Linked DNA regions of Homo sapiens: region 2 is linked to region 1. Evidence: promoter capture Hi-C in 16 types of primary human blood cells and fetal thymus (Javierre and others, 2016). All regions are on one chromosome and are shown on one strand. The core of a region is centred on a gene start or on the middle of the fragment in contact, and the rest is flanking DNA. Distances in the headings are between cores, read along the strand shown. Region 1 holds the start of POP4 (POP4 ribonuclease P/MRP subunit). Region 2 overlaps LINC00662 (long intergenic non-protein coding RNA 662).

Evidence for each region. Contacts are between HindIII fragments. The CHiCAGO score rates a contact against its expected background, and 5 or more counts as called.
Region 2: a fragment that was not itself captured here is called in contact with the fragment with the promoter of POP4 in region 1 in 3 of 17 cell types (total CD8 T cells, naive CD4 T cells and total B cells); the score reaches 6.2 in total CD8 T cells.

The regions. Positions count from the first base shown.
Region 1 is chr19:29,603,947-29,609,213 of GRCh38, reverse strand. It overlaps POP4 (POP4 ribonuclease P/MRP subunit), which reads right to left and starts at 2,931. Exons shown (of 7, transcript NM_006627.3): 1 at 2,889-2,931; 2 at 505-557. The coding sequence starts at 2,895. RefSeq lists an enhancer at 2,789-3,278. The HindIII fragment of the contact is 1,017 bases long and covers 2,489-3,505 here.
Region 2 is chr19:27,787,398-27,792,664 of GRCh38, reverse strand. It overlaps LINC00662 (long intergenic non-protein coding RNA 662), which reads left to right. Exons shown (of 3, transcript NR_027301.1): 3 at 764-2,172. Among named protein-coding and RNA genes, the nearest start is that of LINC02987, 3.4 kb to the left of the region's middle. The HindIII fragment of the contact is 506 bases long and covers 1,390-1,895 here.

The DNA of each region.
Region 1 (5,267 bases), core at 1,682-4,181:
GCTCATCTTTCATGGAGAAGCAAAATAAAGGTATACTGGTCTTTCAAAATCTTGCTTTCAAGGTAATGCTCTCATTATGAGCCACAAGAGGAACTTTTGCAAAACTGACAAAGCAGGCCGAGGCATTCAGATATAATCTGTAAATTTCACTTATGATATGTGATTGCACACCTTCTGCAGAAGTGCAGAGGGCACAGTGACAAGGTTGAATGATGCTGCCCACCACGTGGGCACAGCCTGGTGTCCCCAACACAGTGGGAAATGATAAAAGGTTAAGGAAAGCCTCATTTTACCAAACTTGACTTTGGCACAACAGAAAAGGAGGCTGGCACGTGGGAACAGGTAATGAGAACTACAGACTTTGATCCAGCCTTAGATGTCTGCCAGAAAAATGAGGAGTATGATGTGGGAAAGGACATCTCAATCAGTGCTGGGGGCTCAGAAGCTACTGAGCCATCTTTGCCATCACCTCTGTTGCTCCTGGACTCCCTGCCAAGAACTGACCTGGACATCGGAGTCATTCGCCTCTTTCTGAGACAATGCATGGTAGATCACACCTGGGGGATTAAAAAAAAGAAATGATCAATTCTTGTTGGGTATGGCTGTAAGACCCAAGACTTTTCTAACTATGAAAATAACTACGCCACTAGGCGCAGTGGCTCATACCTGTAGTCCTAGCACTTTGGGAGGCCAAGGCGGGCGGATCCTGACCCAAGGTCAGGAGTTCAAGACCGGCCTGGCCAACATGGTGAAACCCCGTCTCTACTAAAAATACAAAAATTAGCCGGGGATGGTGGCTTGCACTTGTATTCCCAGCTACATGGGAGATTGAGGCAGGAGAATCGCTGGAACCTGGGAGGCAGAGGCTGCAATGCGCCAAGATCGTGCCATTGCACTCCAGCCTGGGTGACAGAGTGAGACTCTGTCTCAAAAAAAAAAAAAAAAAAAAAAGAAAAGAAAAGAAAAGAAAATAACTACACTTCTACACTTATAGCAGAACAACTGCTTATTCAGAGATAGGAGAAGATGAGGTTGGTATTAAGAGCAAAGCTTTCTTGGATGCCTCTTATCCCACCCTCTGGCCACATCTATGCTAGAAGTTCCAAGCACATGGTTTAAAAAGAATGCTTCTCAAAATTTAACGTGTGTAAAAATCTCTGGGATCTTATTAAAATGCAGATTATTGGTCTCCTACCCTAGATCCTGAGTGTTTAACATATTCCCAGATACTACTGCAGGTCAGTGAATCACATTTTGAGTTGCATTGGTTTAAAATACCCCAAGTTAGAAGCTTGAGCACTTGCTAACAAGGTAACTCATTAAAAGTTATATGATATAGCTGTCTAGGATGTAGATGGTTAGAAATAGGTTTTGTTAACTGTAAGATGTTTAAAAAGATTCTTCACATTTTAATATGAAATTATAATGTGTCACATAATCGATGGTGTCCTGAACTGATAAAATACAAGTTTTTCCTTTAAACTCAAAATATACATTGGTCAATAAAGTTTCAACCTCTAAAATAAATTCCACACTTCTGTTTCTTAATTTTTTGAAAGAAGAAAACCATGGCACTGGGGACAGAGTACAGGTGTGAATGGAATAAGAATGGGACTACTAAGGCCTGGTTTATGAGCTAAATAGCTAGAAAATGTAATTTACACTATACTCTGTAAATTTAATTCCAGCTTTCTTGTACTTCCCTGAGAATGTTTGATGCAAGGTGGTTACAAGTTTTTTTTTTTTGTTGTTTGTTTGTTTGTTTTGATACTGGGTTTTGCTCTGTTGCCCTGGCTGGAGTGCAGTGGCACAATCATAGCTCACTGCAACTTCGACCTCCTGGTTTCAAGTGATCCTCCCACCTCAGTCTCCTGAGTAGCTGAGACTACAGGTGTGTGCCACCACACCTGGCTAATTCTTTTTTTTTTTTTCCAGTTTTTGTAGAGACAGGGTCTCGCTATGTTGTTGCCCAAGTTGGTCTTCAACTCTTGGCCTCAAGTGATCCCCCTGCCTCAGCCTCCCAAAGTGCTGGGACCACAGGCGTGTCCCACCACACCCAGCCAGGTATGTTTGTTTGATCAAGCAAACCAATGTGGTTGCAAGTTTTATATATAGCATCTAGTTCTCCCTCAAATGGAAGATGGGGATTATAAACTGTAGAGAGCAACTTGCGGGGCCTGATAACTTTGCTTCATCTGTTACAGGTGCTTAGTAACAGACTTGGAAGTCTTTCTGCAACAATACACATCTAACAATTACTGAACATCCATTACTTGCCAGAAACCTCATTACAAGGTACACATATTTTTTCTCATTACACTTATGTGCATGAGCAAACTGAAGCTCAGACATGCCGAGACAATCTACTTGATCATATAGGTAGAAAGTGGCAGAGATGAAAAATAAAAATTCTGATTGAAGGCCCAGTCTTAACGGTGTCTACACGCCCCTCCTTGGCACATGTCTTCTACCCCTAAGGACCAAAGCTTTGGGTTAGTGATATCATTCCCCAGCAGCTCTCGGCGCTTTGCATCAGGTTAAGAGTGTGAAACCAGCTCGCAGAAAGGAGCAGGATCTTGACCGCGGTCACCCCGGGAGATAGTGGCCAAGTTGAGCCAAGGCCTGGAACCCTCCTCTAGCATCGCACACCACTGAGCAGCCTCCGGGAGAACCTGCCTCCAGCCCTGACATCCCTCCCTAGCTCAGAGGTCGAGCCAGGCTAACCCGTGCTCCAGCCCTCAGTTTTTCTTAGGTAGGGTGGGCCCATTCCTGTAGCGGTTCTGTTAGGACTCCGCAGCAACAGGTAGCCCGGACCCATTTCACCCACCAGTACCAAGACCCCGACCCTTAACGTCCCCAACCCTCTCCAACTTCGCGGCCCCGCTTACTCTTCATTCTCGGACCGCTTCCGGCGCTCTCTGATGACGCACTGGCAGCTGCTGTCGCAGACTCTCGGAGCTCGGAGATGGCGCTATGCGTGACATCACCGGCGCTCGCCCACCTCGGGGGCGCATGCGCCTGGAAAGGGATTCGGCTACTGAGAACGTCGTAGGCGGTGTTGCTGAGCAGTGGGGAGGAGTGGGCTCGCTTCCTGGGGTCTTTTCCGCCTGCATCTTTTGGGGGACAGGCAGTAGGGTTGGGGTAAAGGCATGTGGAATGCTTGCTAAGGCCTGGAGTGGAGCGAGGCGAGGCGACTTGGAGAGGACTCGAAGGAGGTTGGGGATCTGGGAGGGCGGAAATGGGACGGGGACGGTGGGGTGAGGTCTTTGTCGTCCCTAATCAGCGCCCTTACGGATGAGCCGAGGCAGCTTCCGCTGTGAGCACGGGCACCGAAGCTGGGACAGCAGGCTTAGGTTCTAGTTCCGTGTCTGCTGCTAACTAGCTGTTTAACCTCGCTTAGGGCACTTCCCATCTGTAAGCCTCACTTGCAGTCTGTGCTGTGAGTGGGGTCGGCCTCACAGGTAGTGATGCGCCGCCTGGGTCCCTTTGATAGTTTCAGAAAGCTTTCTTGAGACTCAGAATATTTATTAGTTTTTATCAATAAAAAAATCATAGCAATAAGATCAAAGGTGGCTCACACCGTGGGAGGCGCAGGCGGGAGGATCTCTTGAGCCCAGGAGTTCGAGACCAGCCTGGGCAACATCGGGAGACCCCATCTCTACAAAACATTTAAAAAAAATTATCCAGGCGTGGTGGTGCGTGCTTGTAGTCCCAACTACTCGGGTATCTGAGGTGGGAGGATCAGTTGAGCCCAAGGAGTTTAGGGCTGCAGTGAACCTGGATTGCGCTACTGCACTCCAGCCTGGGTGACAGAGTGAGACCCTGTCTCCAAAATAAATAAATAAATTCCATATAAATAAATAAATGAATAAACAAACTCCATTGCTCAGTGGAAAGGTGCAGGAAGGCCTGGTGCAGACTTCTCAGCAGTGACCCAGTGTTGGGCAGAACTGTGGAGCCCCAATTTCTGCTGAGCACTGGGCCTGTGCTGGGTGGGAGAGAAAAGAAATACGGTCCCTTTATGCTAAGTCAGTGGTTCTCAACTTTGAGTACAGTATACATTTCTTTACAGGGGATTCTGGGAGTATGTCCAAAGGTTTTAGTTTGAGAAACATTGGCTTAAACAATTTCTTTGGTGGTGACCTTGTACCATTTTGATTTTAAACATTAGACTGCAGGCACTGAAATTGGTTCATCCCAGTGACCCCGCGTGCATTGACTTTATAAAATTTATGTATTAGTTTTTGCATATGTAGTACACTTATGCATTTATTTTATACGTATAAAATTTGGAAAGACCACATTTAAACCAAAACATGCTGCCTTTGCAGATGCCTGAAAATTGTAATTTATGGGACTGATAGAGAACTTTTATTATTTTTAAAATTAACCAATAAGAATTGTATGTATTTATGGTATACAATATGGTTTGAAATGTGTATACATTGTGTAATGGCTAAATGAGCTATGAGCGATGCTAATACACTCATTTTGTGATGAGAACACTTCAGACCTACTCTCAGTGAAATTCAGGTTATTAACTGAAATTCACTGTTATTAACTATAGTCACCATGTTGTACAATAGAGCCCTTCACAAATGTGAACTTTAAAATCAAATGAGACAGCAGAAGATGTTAGCCAGTTTCAGAGCTGTGTACTCAAGGGGGGCCCTTTTAGGCAAGACCTCTGTGATTATGGAGATTAATGAGAAGACCTGTGTCTTTGAAAGTTTTTTTCTAGGGTTGTTAGGACTCTTAACTCCCAGTTGACTCCTTCTGGGATCCCTGGATAACTGCCAGTCTCCCCTCGAATTCCCTGATGGTGGTGGGGTGGGTCGTCCTTGAGTTGCAATTACAACATAGTTCCTTCATCATTAAAATATTTTTTTTTTTGAGACGGAGTCTTGCTGTGTTGTCCAGGCTGGAGTGCAATGGTGTGATCTCGGCTCACTGCAACCTCTGCCTCCTAGGTTGAAGTGATTCTCCTGCCTCAGCCTCCTGAGTAGCTGAGATTACAGGCACACACCACCACGCCCAGCTAATTTTTGTATTTTTAGTAGAGACAGGGTTTTACCATGTTGGTCAGGTTGGTCTCGAACTCCTGATCTCATGATCCACCCGCCTCGGCCTCCCAAAGTGCTGAGATTACAGGGGTGAGCCACTGCGCCCAGCCTAAAATATTTTTTAAAAAGCAAACAAACAAAAAAAATAAAAAGCAAACAAACCACTTGATTATTCTCAGAAAATGTTTCTGTATGCAGAGAGAT
Region 2 (5,267 bases), core at 393-2,892, 1.8 Mb after region 1:
GACTCAATCATTTCACAGGTCTCTTAGGCCTCTTTTCATTTTCTTTAAACTTGTTTCAGTCTTCAGATTGGATGGTTTATATTGCTGTCTTCTGTTTCTACTCTGTAAACTAAAAGTTCTTTTTATTTTATTATTTTATTGTCTTCTATTTTACTCTTTTTATAATTTCCATGTCTCTGCTGAGACTCTACATGAGTTAATTCATTATGAGAATATTTTCCTTTACCCCCATGAACGTACTTATAATAGCTGCCCTGAAATACTTGTCTGCTGATTACATCATCTCGGACATCTTAGAAATAGCTTCTGCTGCCTGCTTTTTATCTTGTGTATAGTTTGCATGTTACATTTCTTCACACATTTTATGAATTTTAATATTGTGTAATAGAAATTATAAATATTAGTTATAGAGACTAAATTCTGTTGTATTCTTTGGAAGAGCATTGTTATTATTTGAAGAGGGGGTAAATGTGGCTGAATTCAAACAGAATAATTATCTTCCCTACGGTGGGAAAGGTTGAAATTCTCATTCAGTCACACACACGTATGTATGTATTGTATATAGATGAATGTTTCTATGTAACTATATATAATATTTTATCCAGATTGTATCATTGTTATCTGTGAGAGTGTTAGTTTAGCAAGCTACTCCAGTATTACCGGAAGCCAGAACTTCAGTTTTGTTTTCTTACTGGATTTTATGTAAATGAGAGTATCTACTATGGATAGTTTTACACCTACTTTTTCTTTTTTTCTTTTTTAGTTATTTGAGACAGAGTCTCGCTCTGTCACCAGGCTGTACAGTGCCGTGGCCTGTCTCGGCTCACTGCAACCTCCACCTCCTGGGTTCAAGCGATTCTTATGCCTCAGCCTCCCAAGTATCTGGGACTACAGGCATGCGCCACCACGCCCAGCTGATTTTTGTATTTTTAGTAGAGACGGGGTTTCACCATGTTGACCAGGATGGTCTCAATCTCTTGACCTCGTTATCCGGCTGCCTCCTCCTCCCAAAGTGCTGGGATTACAGGCGTGAGCCACCATGCCTGGCCACATCTACTTTTTTAAATGTGTCATTATATTTGTGATATTGTCATGATGTTTTCTACTTATATTTTATTCAAAAATTTTATACTTTAAGTTCTTACCTTTAGGTCTTTGATGCATTTTTATTTGTTTATGGTGTAGGGTAAATGTTCAACTTCATCCTTTTGCTTGTGGATATCCATTTTTTCCCAGCACCAATTGTTATAAAGACAGTCCTTTGCCCATTGAACGGTCTTTGTATCCCCATCAAAAATTATTTGACCATATGCTGCTTTATACTGTTCCAGTGTCCATATGTGTGTCTCTTTGCCAGTACCACACTATTTTGGAACTTTGTATTAAGCTTTGGAATGAATAAGTGTACATTTTGTAACACTGGACTTCTTTTTCAAGATAATTTTGACTCATTGGGGTCCCTTGAGATTCCATATGAAATTTAGGTAGGATTTTTCTATTTCTGCAAAATAGAATTTTTTGCTTTTTTTGTTACTCCCGACGTATTTTATTCTTTTCAGTGCTATTGTAAATGTGCTTGTTTGCTTAGTTTTGTTTTCTAATTATTCATCATTACTGTATAGAAACACAAGTGATATTTGCATGTTAATTTTGTATGCTGCTACTATGCTGAATTTATTAGTTGTAATACTTTTTGTGTGGATCTGTGAAATCTCTAGAGCTTTCCACATAAAATTATATTATCTGTAGGCTAGAGTAATTTTACCTCTACATTTCCAATTTGGATAGTTTGTTTCTTTTTAATTCTTAATTTGACTAGAACTTCCAACACTATGTGGAATAGAAATAGCAAAAGCAGACACCTTTGCCTTGTTCCTGAGCTTAGAGCAGAAGCTTTTTGTCTTTCACCCTGGAGTACATTGTTTGATGTGGTTTTTTAATGTGTGGATTTCACAATGGTAGTATTTTAGTTTTAAAATTCCTACTTTTTTGAGTGTTTTCACCCTGAAAAGATTTTGAATTTCATAAAATACTTTTCTCTGCATCCATGAGGTGATCAATGTTTCTTTTATTTTGTTAATGTGTACACATTGATCAATTTTTATATGTTAAAAAATTCATGTTTTAAGATATCCTTGCATTCTAAGAATAAATTGCACTTGGTCGTGGTGAGATCATCTTTCTTTTTTTTTAAATTTTATTATTATTATACTTTAAGTTATAGGGTACATGTGCACAATGTGCAGGTTAGTTACATATGTATACATGTGCCATGCTGGTGTGCTGCACCCATTAAATTGTCATTTAGCATTAGGTATATCTCCTAAAGCTATCCCTCCCCGCTCCCCCCACCCCACAACAGTCCCCAGAGTGTGATGTTCCCCTTCCTGTGTCCATGTGTTCTCATTGTTCAATTCCCACCTATGAGTGAGAATATGCAGTGTTTGGTTTTTTGTTCTTGCGATAGTTTACTGAGAATGATGATTTCCAATTTCATCCATGTCCCTACAAAGGACATGAACTCATCATTTTTTATGGCTGCATAGTATTCCATGGTGTATATGTGCCACATTTTCTTAATCCAGTCTATCGTTGGACATTTGGGTTGCTTCCAAGTCTTTGCTATTGTGAATAGTGCCGCAATAAACATACGTGTGCATGTGTCTTTATAGCAGCATTATTTATAGTCCTTAGGGTATACACCCAGTAATGGGATGGCTGGGTCAAATGGTATTTCTAGTTCTAGATCCCGGAGGAATCACCACACTGACTTCCACAATGGTTGAACTAGTTTACAGTCCCACCAACAGTGTAAAAGTGTTCCTATTTCTCCACATCCTCTCCAGCACCTGTTGTTTCCTGACTTTTTAATGATTGCCATTCTAACTGGTGTGAGATGGTATCTCATTGTGGTTTTGATTTGCATTTCTCTGATGGCCAGTGATGGTGAGCATTTTTTCATGTGTTTTTTGGCTGCATAAATGTCTTCTTTTGAGAAGTGTCTGTTCATGTCCTTCTCCCACTTTTTGATGGGGTTGTTTGTTTTTTTCTTGTAAATTTGTTTGAGTTCATTGTAGATTCTGGATATTAGCCCTCTGTCAGATGAGTAGGTTGCAAAAATTTTCTCCTATTTTGTAGGTTGCCTGTTCACTCTGATGTAGTTTCTTTTGCTATGCAGAAGCGCTTTAGTTTAATTAGATCCTATTTGTCAATTTTGGCTTTTGTTGCCATTGCTTTTGGTGTTTTAGACATGAAGTCCTTGCCCATGCCTATGTCCTGAATGGTAATGCCTAGGTTTTCTTCTAGGGTTTTTATAGTTTTAGGTCTAGCAGAGCCCTCAGAAATAACACCACATATCTACAATTATCTGATCTTTGATAAACCTGAGAAAAACAAGCAATGGGGAAAGGATTCCCTATTTAATAAATGGTGCTGGGAAAACTGGCTAGCCATACGTAGAAAGCTGAAACTCGATCCCTTCCTTACACCTTATACAAAAATTAATTCAAGATGGTGAGATCATCTTTCTAATATGCTGCTGAATTTTATTTGCTGGAATTTTGTTGAGTTTTGCATCTGTGTTCATAAGGGATAATTAATCTGTAGTTTTCTGTAGTGTCTTTTTCTGGCTTTGATATACGGTAATGCTGAGATTGTGGAATGAGTTTGGAACTGATCTCTCCTTTTCAATTTTTTGGAAGAGTTTGAAAAAGATTTTCAGTCTTTCAAAATGTTTGGTAGAATTAACTACTGAAGCCATCAGGTCAAGGGCTTTTCTTTGTCAGCAGGTTTTTGATTTTTGATTTGATTTCCTTATAAGTTATGGATCAATTCAATTTTTCTATTCTTGGTAATCAAGTCTTGCTAGGTTTTTTATACCTAGAAATTTGTCCATTTCATCTAGATTGTTCATTTTGTTGTCACACAGTTGTTCACAGTACACTCTTTAAAACATTTTATTTCTTAGAATCAGGCAGGCAGATCATGAGATCAGGAAATTGAGACCATTCTGGCCAATATGGTGAAACCCTGTCTCTACTAAAAATACAAAAATCAGCTGGGCATGGTGGTGCATGCTTCTAATCCCAGCTACTTGAGAGGCTGAGGCAGGAGAATCGCTTGAACCTGGGAGGCGGAGGTTGCAGTGAGCTGAGATCGGGCCACTGCACTCCGGCCTGGTGACAGAGCGAGACTCTGTCAAAAAAAAAAAAAAAAAAAGAAGAATTAGTAGTAATGTCCCCATCTCATTTCTCATTCTACTATTTTGAGTATTCTGTAATTTTTTTCATAGTGTAGCTAGAAGTTTGTGAATTTGTCAACATTTTTGAAGAACCAAGAACCAACTTTTGGTTTTGTTGGTTTTCTGTTTTTCTGGTCTCTATTTTCTTTATCTCTACTAAGATCTTCATTATTTTCTTCTTTCTGTTTATTTCGTGCATAGTTCATTCTTTTTCTAATTTGTTAGGTCATAAAGTTAGGTTATTGATTTGAGACCCTTCGTCTTCTTCTTCTTCTTCTTCTTCTTTTTGTTTTGTTTTTTTGACAGAGTCTCACTCTGTTGCCGAGGCTGTAGTGAAGTGGTGCAATCTCAGCTCACTGCAACCTCCACCCGCTGAGTTCAAGCGATTCTCCTGCCTCAGCCTCCTGAGTAGCTTGGATTACAGATGCCCGCTACCATGCCCGGCTAATTTTTGTATTTTTAGTAGAGACAAGGTTTCACCATTTTGGCTAGGCTAGTTTCAAACTCCTGACCTCAGGTGATCCACCTGCCTGGCCTCCCAAAGTGCTGGGATTACAGGCATGAGCCACCACGCCCAGCCAAGGCCCTTCTTTAATGTGTTTATAGCTATAAATTTCTGATCTTCACACTGCTTTTGTGCATCTCATAACTTTTGGTATGTTGTATTTTCATTTTCCATTCTCTGTATTTTTTAATTTCCCTTGAGTTTTTTTCTTTTACTTATTGGTTGTTTAAGAGTATGTTAAATTTTACAACTTTGTGAGTGTTTTAGTTTTCCTTCTGTTATTGACTTGATTTGTGACATAACATACAGTCCATCCTGGAGAATGTCCATGTGTGATCCATGGACATTGAGAATAGTGTGTATTCTTCTGTTGTTGGGTGGAGTATCCTGTATATGTATCTGTTAAATTTAGTTGGTTTGTTGTATTATATAAGCCATTTATTTCTAACTTATCTTCTATCTGGTGATTCTGTTCATTACAGAGAGTGGAGTATTATCATCTCTATTATTTTAGAACTGTCG